2 separate regions of the Homo sapiens genome follow, and region 2 is linked to region 1. The links are contacts of gene promoters, found by promoter capture Hi-C in blood cells and fetal thymus (Javierre and others, 2016). All regions are on one chromosome and are shown on one strand. The core of a region is centred on a gene start or on the middle of the fragment in contact, and the rest is flanking DNA. Distances in the headings are between cores, read along the strand shown. Region 1 holds the start of ATP12A (ATPase H+/K+ transporting non-gastric alpha2 subunit). Region 2 holds the start of PABPC3 (poly(A) binding protein cytoplasmic 3).

Evidence for each region. The method cuts DNA at HindIII sites, captures the fragments that hold promoters and counts their contacts. A CHiCAGO score of 5 or more calls a contact.
Region 2: the fragment with the promoter of PABPC3 here is called in contact with the fragment with the promoter of ATP12A in region 1 in 5 of 17 cell types (erythroblasts, neutrophils, naive B cells and 2 more); the score reaches 5.9 in erythroblasts.

Annotation. Positions count from the first base shown.
Region 1 is chr13:24,677,858-24,683,620 of GRCh38, forward strand. It overlaps ATP12A (ATPase H+/K+ transporting non-gastric alpha2 subunit), which reads left to right and starts at 2,551. Exons shown (of 23, transcript NM_001676.7): 1 at 2,551-2,895; 2 at 3,705-3,863. The coding sequence starts at 2,887. RefSeq lists a silencer at 2,599-2,908 and enhancers at 4,102-4,682, 4,782-5,283, 5,284-5,763. The HindIII fragment of the contact is 1,067 bases long and covers 2,201-3,267 here.
Region 2 is chr13:25,092,503-25,098,265 of GRCh38, forward strand. It overlaps PABPC3 (poly(A) binding protein cytoplasmic 3), which reads left to right and starts at 3,634. Exons shown (of 1, transcript NM_030979.3): 1 at 3,634-5,763. The coding sequence starts at 3,697. The coding sequence ends at 5,592. It overlaps LOC124900613 (a long non-coding RNA gene), which reads left to right and starts at 3,118. Exons shown (of 3, transcript XR_941762.3): 1 at 3,118-3,157. RefSeq lists a silencer at 3,549-3,843. The HindIII fragment of the contact is 7,788 bases long and covers 1-4,404 here.

The DNA.
Region 1 (5,763 bases), core at 1,301-3,800:
TTTCTAAAGCTGTGTCACCATCTCTTTTTAGCCCACTTCCCCTCCCCGCTCCCCATCCCTCAGTCAAGTCCCTAGGATCTGAGTTTGCTTTTGGAGCTTGAACTGGCCTTGAGCTCAGAGACATCTCTCTGCGGACCCTGCTTCTCTATTCTACATCTGTCCCAATAGTTGGAGCAGGGGCTGGAACAGCTTAAGGTGAGCAGCAGCCACCTGTTCCCAAAAAACCCTTAGCTTGGATTATCAGCAGACAGTGGAACATCAGTTTCGTACACATTTTGTATTTCTCACCCCATCTGCAAACCTTTCCTTTGAAGAGTATTCCAAGAATGGAACCCAGAGCTCCCCAGAAGCACACTGTTGCTTGGGTTTGGACTAGAATTTAATGTTCCCTCCAACTCTAGAGAATCCATGATGTGTATCTTTACACCAGATGCCACTAGGAGTCTTCCTGTCCCTTATCATTTTAGTTAAGAAGTGACTCATTGCTGTCATCCTTGCTTCACAGAGGGAGGAACCCAGGCTTCAGATTCTGCCCTTTTGGAACGGAAGAAGGAGGGAGAGCGGGGAAAGACCTATGTGTGCAGCACTATGGAGACAGTTCACTATGTCGGGTACAACACATTCCCTTAGTCTCATTTGAAAGCCATGATGAACAGAGAGGTGTGGAAAATCTAAGATCACAAATATGCCATGAGAAAGTATCTTTGTCTCTACTGCTACTTTACAAAACCACGTCTCTAACTGCTAACACTTCAAATTCCCTCAAAATAAGCTTCTTTTCCCAATTGTCCCTCACCACCAACTATAGTCATGCTCTGAAATTATTATGGAAATTTAGCATCTGAAAGGAACAGGAAGTTATAATTAATTCCTAATTAGAATTGGGCACAAGCTTTTTTTTCTTATTTTTTTTTTAATTTTTTTATTGTGACAGAGTCTCGCTCTGTCGCCCAGGCTGGAGTGCAGTGGCGCGATCTCCACTCACTGAAAGCTCCACCGTCTCCCGGGTTCATGCCATTCTCCTGCCTCAGCCTCCCGAGCAGCTGGGACTACAGGCGCCCACCACCATGCCCGGCTAATTGTTTTGTATTTTTAGTAGAGATGGGGTTTCACCGTGTTAGCCAGGATGGTCTCGATCTCCTGACTTCGTGATCCGCCCGCCTCGGCCTCCCAAAGCGTTGGGATTACAGGCGTGAGCCACCGCGCCCGGCCGGGCACAAGCTTATTGTTTTTCTTCTACCTTTTCTAAATGTACCCAATGCTCTTCATGTTTTCTGCCAGATGTTCTAGTCACTGCATGATGGGATTGTTACTTTTGCTGCTTCTCTGGACTCCTCACTCTTAGTCATTTTAAATATGGTCAAAATGACAATCTTTCTTACCATATTTGATATATAACTTTCAAAAAGAATAAAACTTAGCACCCTCCTATTAGTCCTTATCTAAATGGAAACTTATTAGCAGAGCATCAAGGGCCCAATAAAGTGCCCCCTCTTTTGAAACTTATCTCTACTCCCTTTCATATATTTCAATCATGTCAATTTCTTATTGTTCTTCTAAATAGGTGCTGATTACTAAACTCTATTCGTGGGTTTTATTTTTTATGTTCCTCTCCATTAATTAATATTCTTCACTGACTTTAAGACTTCACGATTCATTCTTTTAAAAGAACGTGTTTGATTTCCTCCACTGTTAACTGCTAAATATCTCTCTGATATATTGTTTTCAGGCTATCTTTCTCATCTGGAGTAATTATGTTTCAAGTGTCAGGGGGAAAATACCTTTTCTATCCTGTGCAAAAACTCATGCTGGGCACTAAGAGCATGGAGCATGTCCCAGTTATCTATTGCTGCATAACAAACCAACCCAAACTTAGCAGTATAAAACAACCACTGCTTTAGTATGCACATCAACTTTCAGGGTCAGAAATTCTTTTCTCCTTCATGTATAGAGTCTCAGCTGGGAGTGACATAAATAGGTGGAGACAGACCTCTCCAGCCCAGTCCAGCCAACAGCCTCCGCTCCTGCGCACCCGCAGCCTGGGGCCCCAGGTTCCTGTGGTCTCACCGACCCTAATCCTCTCATCTCTCCTCCCCATTCCCTCTCCAAATTGTTTCAGAATTCCAAATTCTTATCTGGATCCGGCAAATTAATTCAGCTACTCTTCAGAGTCTCTCAGTTATTCCCAAATTCTCTCGGAAGCTTGAATTTACCTATCTAAATCCATTCTCAAAAACACATTGGCCTTTTCTAGCCGGGACATCTCCAACAGTAGTTGCTGTTAGAAACTGCAATTTCCCCTTCTCTGCATACACATTTTTATAAATTGATTTATTGGTAGGCAAATTACATTTTTAAAAAAAGGCATGTGTGGGTTTTCAGGGAAGCCTGGACAGGACGTGGGCGTGCCGGGAGCTCGCCGGAGCAGCTGGTCCGGCTCTGGGCGCCCAGCGGAACCAGGGCTGTACTCACCTGGATGCCGGACCCGCCCCCTAGAGACCCCGCCCCCTGGCGTTCGGCTACTAAAGGGAAGGGGATTCCCAGGGGGTCCTCAATCCTGGACTCTCCCGACCCCTAGCTGTCGGTCCCCCTCCCTGCGCGCGCGCCGGCGGGTTTCCTACCCTCCGAGGCGTCCGCTGGCCTGCGCCCTGGCGGGGACGTGGGCGGGGCGGGCGGCATTTAAGGCTGGTGCCACCTCCCCGGTGCAGCGGCTGGCGATCGGCCGCGGAGGTGCGTGCAGGGCCCGCGCCGCCGCCGGTATCTCCACCGCCAACACCTCAGCCACTGCCACTGCCACAGCCACACGAGGCCCCCCACCGTGCGCTCCGCCGCTGCGGTCCCGGATCCGCGCTCCACGCCCGCAGCCCGCGGCGCCACCAGCCCAGCATGCACCAGGTGCGTGCAGCCCCCGCGCCGGCCGAGGATGCGAGACGCTGGGCCAAGGCCCCGGGGACCGGAGCAGGCTGACGGGAAGCGAGGAAAAGGCGAAGAGGAGAAACGCCCCGTCCCGGGGCAAGGGGAGGCCGCCTTTCCTCTGAGCGCCCCCCGGCCTGGGCACCGCTTCTCTGACTCCCCGCCACGGCTCCGTGCGGCCGCCGGGGCTGGCTGGGGAAAGAAGCCAGTCCAGAGGAGCGAGAAGGGGCCAAGGGGTCCTAGGCCAGCTCCATGGCACCTGCGGGCTCCGACTCGGAGGATGGGGTGACATGGATTCGTTGCGGTCTGAAAAGACTTCCGGTTAGGGCCCCCTGATCAGGACTGAGGGTCGTAAGCTTAGTGGGTGCCTCCTCCCCAAGAAACAGGACGCACAGCTGTTGTGTCCCCTGGGAAGGACACCTCAGAGGAAACCTCGAGGTGCCTAAGGAACCTCGAGGTTCTAAGGAAACCTCACAGCTCCTTGGAGGCATCAGTCAGGAGTTGGGGGGGTAACTTCCCACCTGCTCCACCCAGAGAAGGGTCACCCTGAGGAGCTGCTGGCTGGCCTGTGCCCACCCCGCCTCCCCTCTACACGGACGGAGAGGAAGCCAAGGTCGGCGGGAGGTGGGGGAGAGACTCCACTGTCCGACTCCCTCCGGCCTCCCCAGAGGAGGGAAGGAAAGGGAGAAGGGGCTCCTGACTCCTGCAGGTCCTGACCCCGCAGAGGGGCGCTCAGCACCTCTTCGGAAACCCCATTTGGGGCCAATATTGCACCTGGGCTTCTCTTTCAGAAAACCCCAGAAATTTACTCCGTGGAGCTCAGCGGAACTAAGGACATCGTGAAAACAGACAAGGGGGATGGCAAGGAGAAGTATAGGGGTCTGAAGAACAACTGCCTGGAACTCAAAAAGAAAAATCACAAAGAGGAGTTTCAGAAAGAACTCCATCTGGTCAGTAGCCTTAAGCCACGGGGTCCTGCCGGCTATGGCCCTTCCCCGCAAGAGCTTGCCCCTAGAACCCACCTCTTACCACAGACATTCAGTCTGAGGGATTTGAAATCCCCTTGAGATTGTGTGTGGTGTGTGGTGTCTGCGTGGTGTGTCTGTGTGGTGTGTGTGTGTGGTGTATGTGTGGTGTGTGTGTATGTGTGGTGTGTCTGTGTAGTGTGTGGTGTGTGTGTGTATGTGTGGTGTGTGGTGTATGGTGTGTGGTGTGTGTGTATGGTGTGTGGTGTGTGTATATGGTGTGTGTAGTGTGTGGTGTGTGTATGTGTGTGGTGTGTGTGTATGGTGTGTGTGTATGGTGTGTGTATGTGTGGTGTGTGTGATGTGTGTGTGATGTGTGTGTGGTGTGTGTGTGTGGTGTGTATATGTGTGTGGTGTGTGTGTGGTGTGTGTATGTGTGTGGTGTGTGTATGTGTGTGGTATATATGTGTGTGGTGTGTGTGGTGTGTGTATGTGCATGGTATGTGTGGTGTGTGTGTAGCGTGTGGTGTGTGTGTAGTGTGTGGTGTGTATGTGTGGTGTGTGTATGTGCATGGTATGTGTGGTGTGTGTGTAGCGTGTGGTGTGTGTGTAGTGTGTGGTGTATATGTGTGGTGTGTGGTGTGTGTGTGGTGTGTGGTGTGTGTATGTGTGTGTGTGTGTTTTGAATGGTGTGATAGTATCCACCCAGAGGTCAGGGCCTCTGCAGGATTCCTGCATTCTGGTTGGAGGCAGTCCCTGTAGAACTCAGAAGGAAGAGCCTCTGATTCCAGGCCCCACAGGCATGGCCAGACCTCTCTCCCCGCAGCTGCTTCAGTGAGAGTTAAGTAACCACTTGCCAGTTTTCAATTGATTAGTAAAACTATTTGAGCTGGAACTTCTGAGGAGGAAAACCAAAGCCCCTAGGCCATGCTAGATTGCAGGTGTGAAACCTCATGGAAAAGCAGTTTCAGTGGTAAAAATGTGGAGCTTGGATTGGGAGGACCTCGGGCCCCATCAGAGTCCCACTTCTCCACTGAGCTGAAACTGGCAACAAATGACTGACCCTCACTGAAGGTCCATTTCCTTTATGTAAAATGGGAAATAAATAATTTGCTGGGGTCTATGAGGGGAAAAAATGAGATGAGGATTTTGTAATTCACGTGCTTTAGGGGAGTACAATATTATTATTATTAAGGAAGAGCTCTGGAGTTATTAAAACTAGCCTTTTTTTTTTTTTTGAGACAGAGTTTCGCTCTTGTTGCCCAGGCTGGAGTGCAATGGCGCTATCTAGGCTCACTGCAACCTCCACCTCCTGGGTTCAAGCGATTCTCTTGCCTCGGCCTCCCGAGTCACTGGGATTACAGGCGCCCGCCATCACACCCAGCTAATTTTTGTTGTTTTTAGTAGAGACGGGGTTTCCCCATGTTGGCCAGGCTGCTCTCGAACTCCTGACCTCAGATGATCCACCCGCCTCAGCTTCCCAAAGTGCTGGGATTACAGGCGTGAGCCACTGTGTCCAGCCCAAACTGGCCACTTTAATAATAAAACTGCCTTGGGTCTGAAATGTGACAGATTTTATCTTGGGAACACCGAAGGGGAAACTTCTACACGGAGCTTGAGATGGGCTGGATTGTCCCCACCGTCCTTGGCAGATCTTAAAGCTCTGTGACTCCTGAGGGGAGTCTCTTTTGTGCTAGAGAGCCATTTGTTAAGTATTCAGAAACTTGGCAGGCTGACTGACATCCTGTTAGCAGCTTCAAACTTGGTTCTAGTGAGAAATCAGCAAACTCTACAAATCCGAGCTTTGTATTGATCGTTCCTGGAGAGTTTGTTAAACATTTAACAGTATACCACTGGGCATTTGTCCGTATCTATCATGAGAGAC
Region 2 (5,763 bases), core at 2,384-4,883, 420 kb after region 1:
CCCCTGTATGTTCATGTGTTCTCGTCATTTAGCTACCACTTACAAGTGAGAGCATGTGGTATTTGGTTTTCTGTTCCTGCGTTAGTTTGCTAAGGATAATGGTCTCCACCTTCATCCATGTCCCCATAAAGAACATGATCTCGTTTCTTTCTATGGCTGTATAGTATTCCATGGTATATATGTATCACATTTTCTTTATCCAGTCTATCATTGATGGGGATTTATGTTGATTCCATGTCTTTGCTATTGTGAACAGTGCTGCAATGAACATATGCATGCATGTATCTTTTAATAGAATGATTATATTCCTTTGGGTATATACCCAGTAATGGGATTGCTGGGTCAAATGGTATTTCTGCCTCTAGATCTTTGAGGAATCACCACACTGTCTTCCACAATGGTTGAACTAATTTACACTCCCACCAACAGTGTAAAAGTGTTTGTTTTTCTCCACAACCTCACCAGCATCTGTTGTTTTTTGATTTTTAGTAATAGTCAGTCTGACTGATGTGAGATGGTACCTCATTCTGGTTTTGATTTGCATTTCTATAGTGATCAGTGATGTTGAGCTTTTTTTCATGTTCATTGGTCACATGTATGTCTTCTTTTGAGAAGTGTCTATTCATGTTCTTTGCCCAAAAGTGTGTATTTTTGTACTTCTCTATTTGGACAAGTACAGAAGTGTCATTTTGTATGTTTCTATTTGGACAATATGTGTAGGTGCAACATTTACAACCCCACTGTACAATCTGACACCATTGTCCACAATAATATGTCAACAGGGTAGCCTGACAGCCCATATTTGAGGCTTTCCACTTTTAATTCTTTTTTAAACATAAGAATCGACTTTATTCTGCCTTATTTGTGCATAAGACTACCTTCAGTATTATCTGACGACAAACCAAAGACTAGATGTTTTCTACAGATTACCAACTCTCCAGAAGAGAAGCAGTCAAACTTATAATTGCTAAAAATCATGAAATGAAAAGGAAGCTCCACAAAAGGGAAGAGGGAAAGTGTAGGAATTAGACATGGGGATTTCCATTCCCTGTTACTCTGGAAACCATGGTGACTGAGAGCTGTGATTAAACCATATAATATGCCGATATAAACTTAGAAGAATCTGGGAAAGAAGAAATTTCTCTGGCCAGGTGTGGTGGCTCACGCCTGCAATCCCAGCACTTTGGGAAGCCGAGGTGGGTGGATTGCTTAAGCTCAGGAGTTGGAGAGCTCAGGAGTTCCAGACCAGCCTGGGCAATATGGCAAAACCCCATCTCTACCAAAAATACAAAAATTAGCTGGGTGTGGTGGCATGTGCCTCTAGTCCCAGCTACTTGGGAGGCTGAGGTGGGAGGATCTCTTAAGCCTGGGAGGTGAAGGCTGCAGTGAGCTGCGGCCACTGCACTCCAGCCTGGGCAACAGAGTGAGGCCCTGTCTTCAAAATAAAAATAATAATAATAATAAATAAATCCCTTCTATCTATTCAGTTCCTTTTCCTTCCAGACAAAATTTTTCCACACAAATCAATTTGTTTGCTAACTGCATCAGGATTTTCTCTAAACCATAATACAATCGGCAGATTAGTTGTCCAGTGGAAATAACCTTCTCCTGTATGGTCTAGGCTTGTTTTAAATGCTCTACCATCACTGGGCTTGGGATTGCAATCCTCAAAACTTCTGGGAAATCTGAAAATGAAGTTACAAATTAAATCATAGGTCTCCAAGAAGCCTGGAATTTTGATACATTCATCCCGGTTTTCTTCCACCCAAGTGTATATTCCGTGGGCTGTATCTGTGGGGAATCTGCTTTCCTGCCCATGAACACACCGAAATGGTTCTGCGAAGATGCCTTTCTCTGGAAGAGCATTTTGCTTTTGTTAATGAGGCAGAAAATCGATCTCATATTGTTGAGTAACCACACCCTTCCTAGCACTTGGTTTTTACAAGACCACATTGTTGAAATGATGGACGTGCTCCTAAAAAGCTGTGTATCAACTTCATTTTTAAACTTTTAATTGAATTTTATATTAGTGGCAACCACTATTTAAAGAAACCCTCTACTCTAGGCTAGGCGCGGCGGCTCACGCCTGTAATCCCAGAGCTTTGGCAGGCGTAGGTGGGCGGATCACCTGAGGTCAGGAATTCTAGACCAGCCTAGCCAACAAGGCGAAACCCCGTTTCTACTAAAAACAATACAAAAATTAGCCAGGCGTGGTAGTGCCTGCCTGTAATCCCAGCTATTCGGGAGGCTGAGGCGCTAGAATCCCTTGAACCCGGGAGGTGGAGGTTGCGGTGAACCAAGATCGCACCACTGCACTACAGCCTGGGTGACAGAACGAGACTCTATCTAAACAAACAAACAAACAAAAAACCCTAAAATAAATTATTTGTAACATGAACAGAATGAACAGATCCTCCCCCAAACTGATATTTTTTGTGGGACTGGACCTTTCTTAAAGGATTTTCTTAAATAGAATTATTTCAGATCATCACTTACTTAGATGTGTAGCTATATTAGGTCACAAGATTGTGTACTTATAATCATAAAACGTATACTTAATAATGAATCCCAACCTGACCTCAAAAGACTATATCATATAATACTATATTAACATTACATATTTATTGGTCGGGCACGGTGGCTTACGCCTGTAATCCCAGCACTTTGGGAGGCCGAGGTGGGTGGATCACGAGGTCAGGAGTTCAAGATCAGCCTGGCCAAGATGGTGAAACCCCGTCTCTACTAAAAATACAAAAAATTAGCCAGGCTTGGTGGTGGGTGCCTGTAATCCCAGCTACTTTAGAAGCTGAGGCAGGAGAATCGCTTGAACCTGGGAGGTGGAGGTTGCAGTGAGCCGAGATCGCACCACTGCACTCCAGCCTGGGTGACAGAGCAAAACTCCGTCTCAAAAATAAATAAGTAAAATAAAAATAAATAAATGAAAAATAAAATTACATATTTATTATGTTTTATATTGTTATATAATATAAAAAGTCGGTTTTTCGGGGTTTTTTGTTTGTTTGTTTGTTTGTTTGAGATAGTCTCGCTCTGTCACCCAGACTAGAGGGCAGTGGCGCGATCTCTGCTCACTGCAACCTCCACCTCCCGGGTTCAAGCGATTCTCGTGCCTAGGCCTCCCGAGTAGCTGGGATTACAGGTGAGCACATCAAGCCCAGCTAATTTTTTGTAATTTTAGTAGAGACGAGGTAAAAAGTAGAAAATATTTTATAAAAATATATTTGTGTAAAGTAGAACATATATAAAAACATACTAAAGGAGAAAGGAGAAAAAAATTCTTTCATTTATTTTTTTCCCAGGCATTTTAAATTTGGATTATAAAAATCATTTTAGAAAAATCATTAATGCTCTTTTACAAAATAACCCGGTGAAGCAGCTGAGCCCGAGCCGCCCGCCAGCGGCCCCGCAGCAGCTCCAAGAAGGAACTAAGAGACCAAGGCCTTCCTGCTGCCCGGACCCGACACCGCTACCCTGGCTCCCCGCCGGCAGCCGGCAGCCAGCGGCAGCGGATCGACCCCGTTCTGCGGCCGTTGAGTAGTTTTCGATTTCGGCTGATTTTTGTCCCTCTGCGCTTGCCCCCGCTCCCCTCCCTCCGGCTACGCCCCCGGCCCCGGCACGCGCTCTACTCCTGTAACGGAAAGGTCGCGGCTTGTGTGCCTGCGGGCAGCCGTGCCGAGAATGAACCCCAGCACCCCCAGCTACCCAACGGCCTCGCTCTACGTGGGGGACCTCCACCCCGACGTGACTGAGGCGATGCTCTACGAGAAGTTCAGCCCGGCAGGGCCCATCCTCTCCATCCGGATCTGCAGGGACTTGATCACCAGCGGCTCCTCCAACTACGCGTATGTGAACTTCCAGCATACGAAGGACGCGGAGCATGCTCTGGACACCATGAATTTTGATGTTATAAAGGGCAAGCCAGTACGCATCATGTGGTCTCAGCGTGATCCATCACTTCGAAAAAGTGGAGTGGGCAACATATTCGTTAAAAATCTGGATAAGTCCATTAATAATAAAGCACTGTATGATACAGTTTCTGCTTTTGGTAACATCCTTTCGTGTAACGTGGTTTGTGATGAAAATGGTTCCAAGGGTTATGGATTTGTACACTTTGAGACACACGAAGCAGCTGAAAGAGCTATTAAAAAAATGAACGGAATGCTCCTAAATGGTCGCAAAGTATTTGTTGGACAATTTAAGTCTCGTAAAGAACGAGAAGCTGAACTTGGAGCTAGGGCAAAAGAGTTCCCCAATGTTTACATCAAGAATTTTGGAGAAGACATGGATGATGAGCGCCTTAAGGATCTCTTTGGCAAGTTCGGGCCCGCCTTAAGTGTGAAAGTAATGACCGATGAAAGTGGAAAATCCAAAGGATTTGGATTTGTAAGCTTTGAAAGGCATGAAGATGCACAGAAAGCTGTAGATGAGATGAATGGAAAGGAGCTCAATGGAAAACAAATTTACGTTGGTCGAGCTCAGAAAAAAGTGGAACGGCAGACGGAACTTAAGCGCACATTTGAACAGATGAAGCAAGATAGGATCACCAGATACCAGGTTGTTAATCTTTATGTGAAAAATCTTGATGATGGTATTGATGATGAACGTCTCCGGAAAGCGTTTTCTCCATTTGGTACAATCACTAGTGCAAAGGTTATGATGGAAGGTGGTCGCAGCAAAGGGTTTGGTTTTGTATGTTTCTCCTCCCCAGAAGAAGCCACTAAAGCAGTTACAGAAATGAACGGTAGAATTGTGGCCACAAAGCCATTGTATGTAGCTTTAGCTCAGCGCAAAGAAGAGCGCCAGGCTTACCTCACTAACGAGTATATGCAGAGAATGGCAAGTGTACGAGCTGTGCCCAACCAGCGAGCACCTCCTTCAGGTTACTTCATGACAGCTGTCCCACAGACTCAGAACCATGCTGCATACTATCCTCCTAGCCAAATTGCTCGACTAAGACCAAGTCCTCGCTGGACTGCTCAGGGTGCCAGACCTCATCCATTCCAAAATAAGCCCAGTGCTATCCGCCCAGGTGCTCCTAGAGTACCATTTAGTACTATGAGACCAGCTTCTTCACAGGTTCCACGAGTCATGTCAACGCAGCGTGTTGCTAACACATCAACACAGACAGTGGGTCCACGTCCTGCAGCTGCTGCTGCTGCTGCAGCTACCCCTGCTGTGCGCACGGTTCCACGGTATAAATATGCTGCGGGAGTTCGCAATCCTCAGCAACATCGTAATGCACAGCCACAAGTTACAATGCAACAGCTTGCTGTTCATGTACAAGGTCAGGAAACTTTGACTGCCTCCAGGTTGGCATCTGCCCCTCCTCAAAAGCAAAAGCAAATGTTAGGTGAACGGCTCTTTCCTCTTATTCAAGCCATGCACCCTACTCTTGCTGGGAAAATCACTGGCATGTTGTTGGAGATTGATAATTCAGAACTTCTTTATATGCTCGAGTCTCCAGAGTCACTCCGTTCTAAGGTTGATGAAGCTGTAGCTGTACTACAAGCCCACCAAGCTAAAGAGGCTACCCAGAAAGCAGTTAACAGTGCTACCGGTGTTCCAACTGTTTAAAATTGATCAGAGACCACGAAAAGAAATTTGTGCTTCACCGAAGAAAAATATCTAAACATCGAGAAACTATGGGAAAAAAAATTGCAAAATCTAAAATAAAAAATGCAAAATCTAAAATAAAAAATGGAAAGGAAACTTTGAACCTTATGTACCGAGCAAATGCAAGGTCTA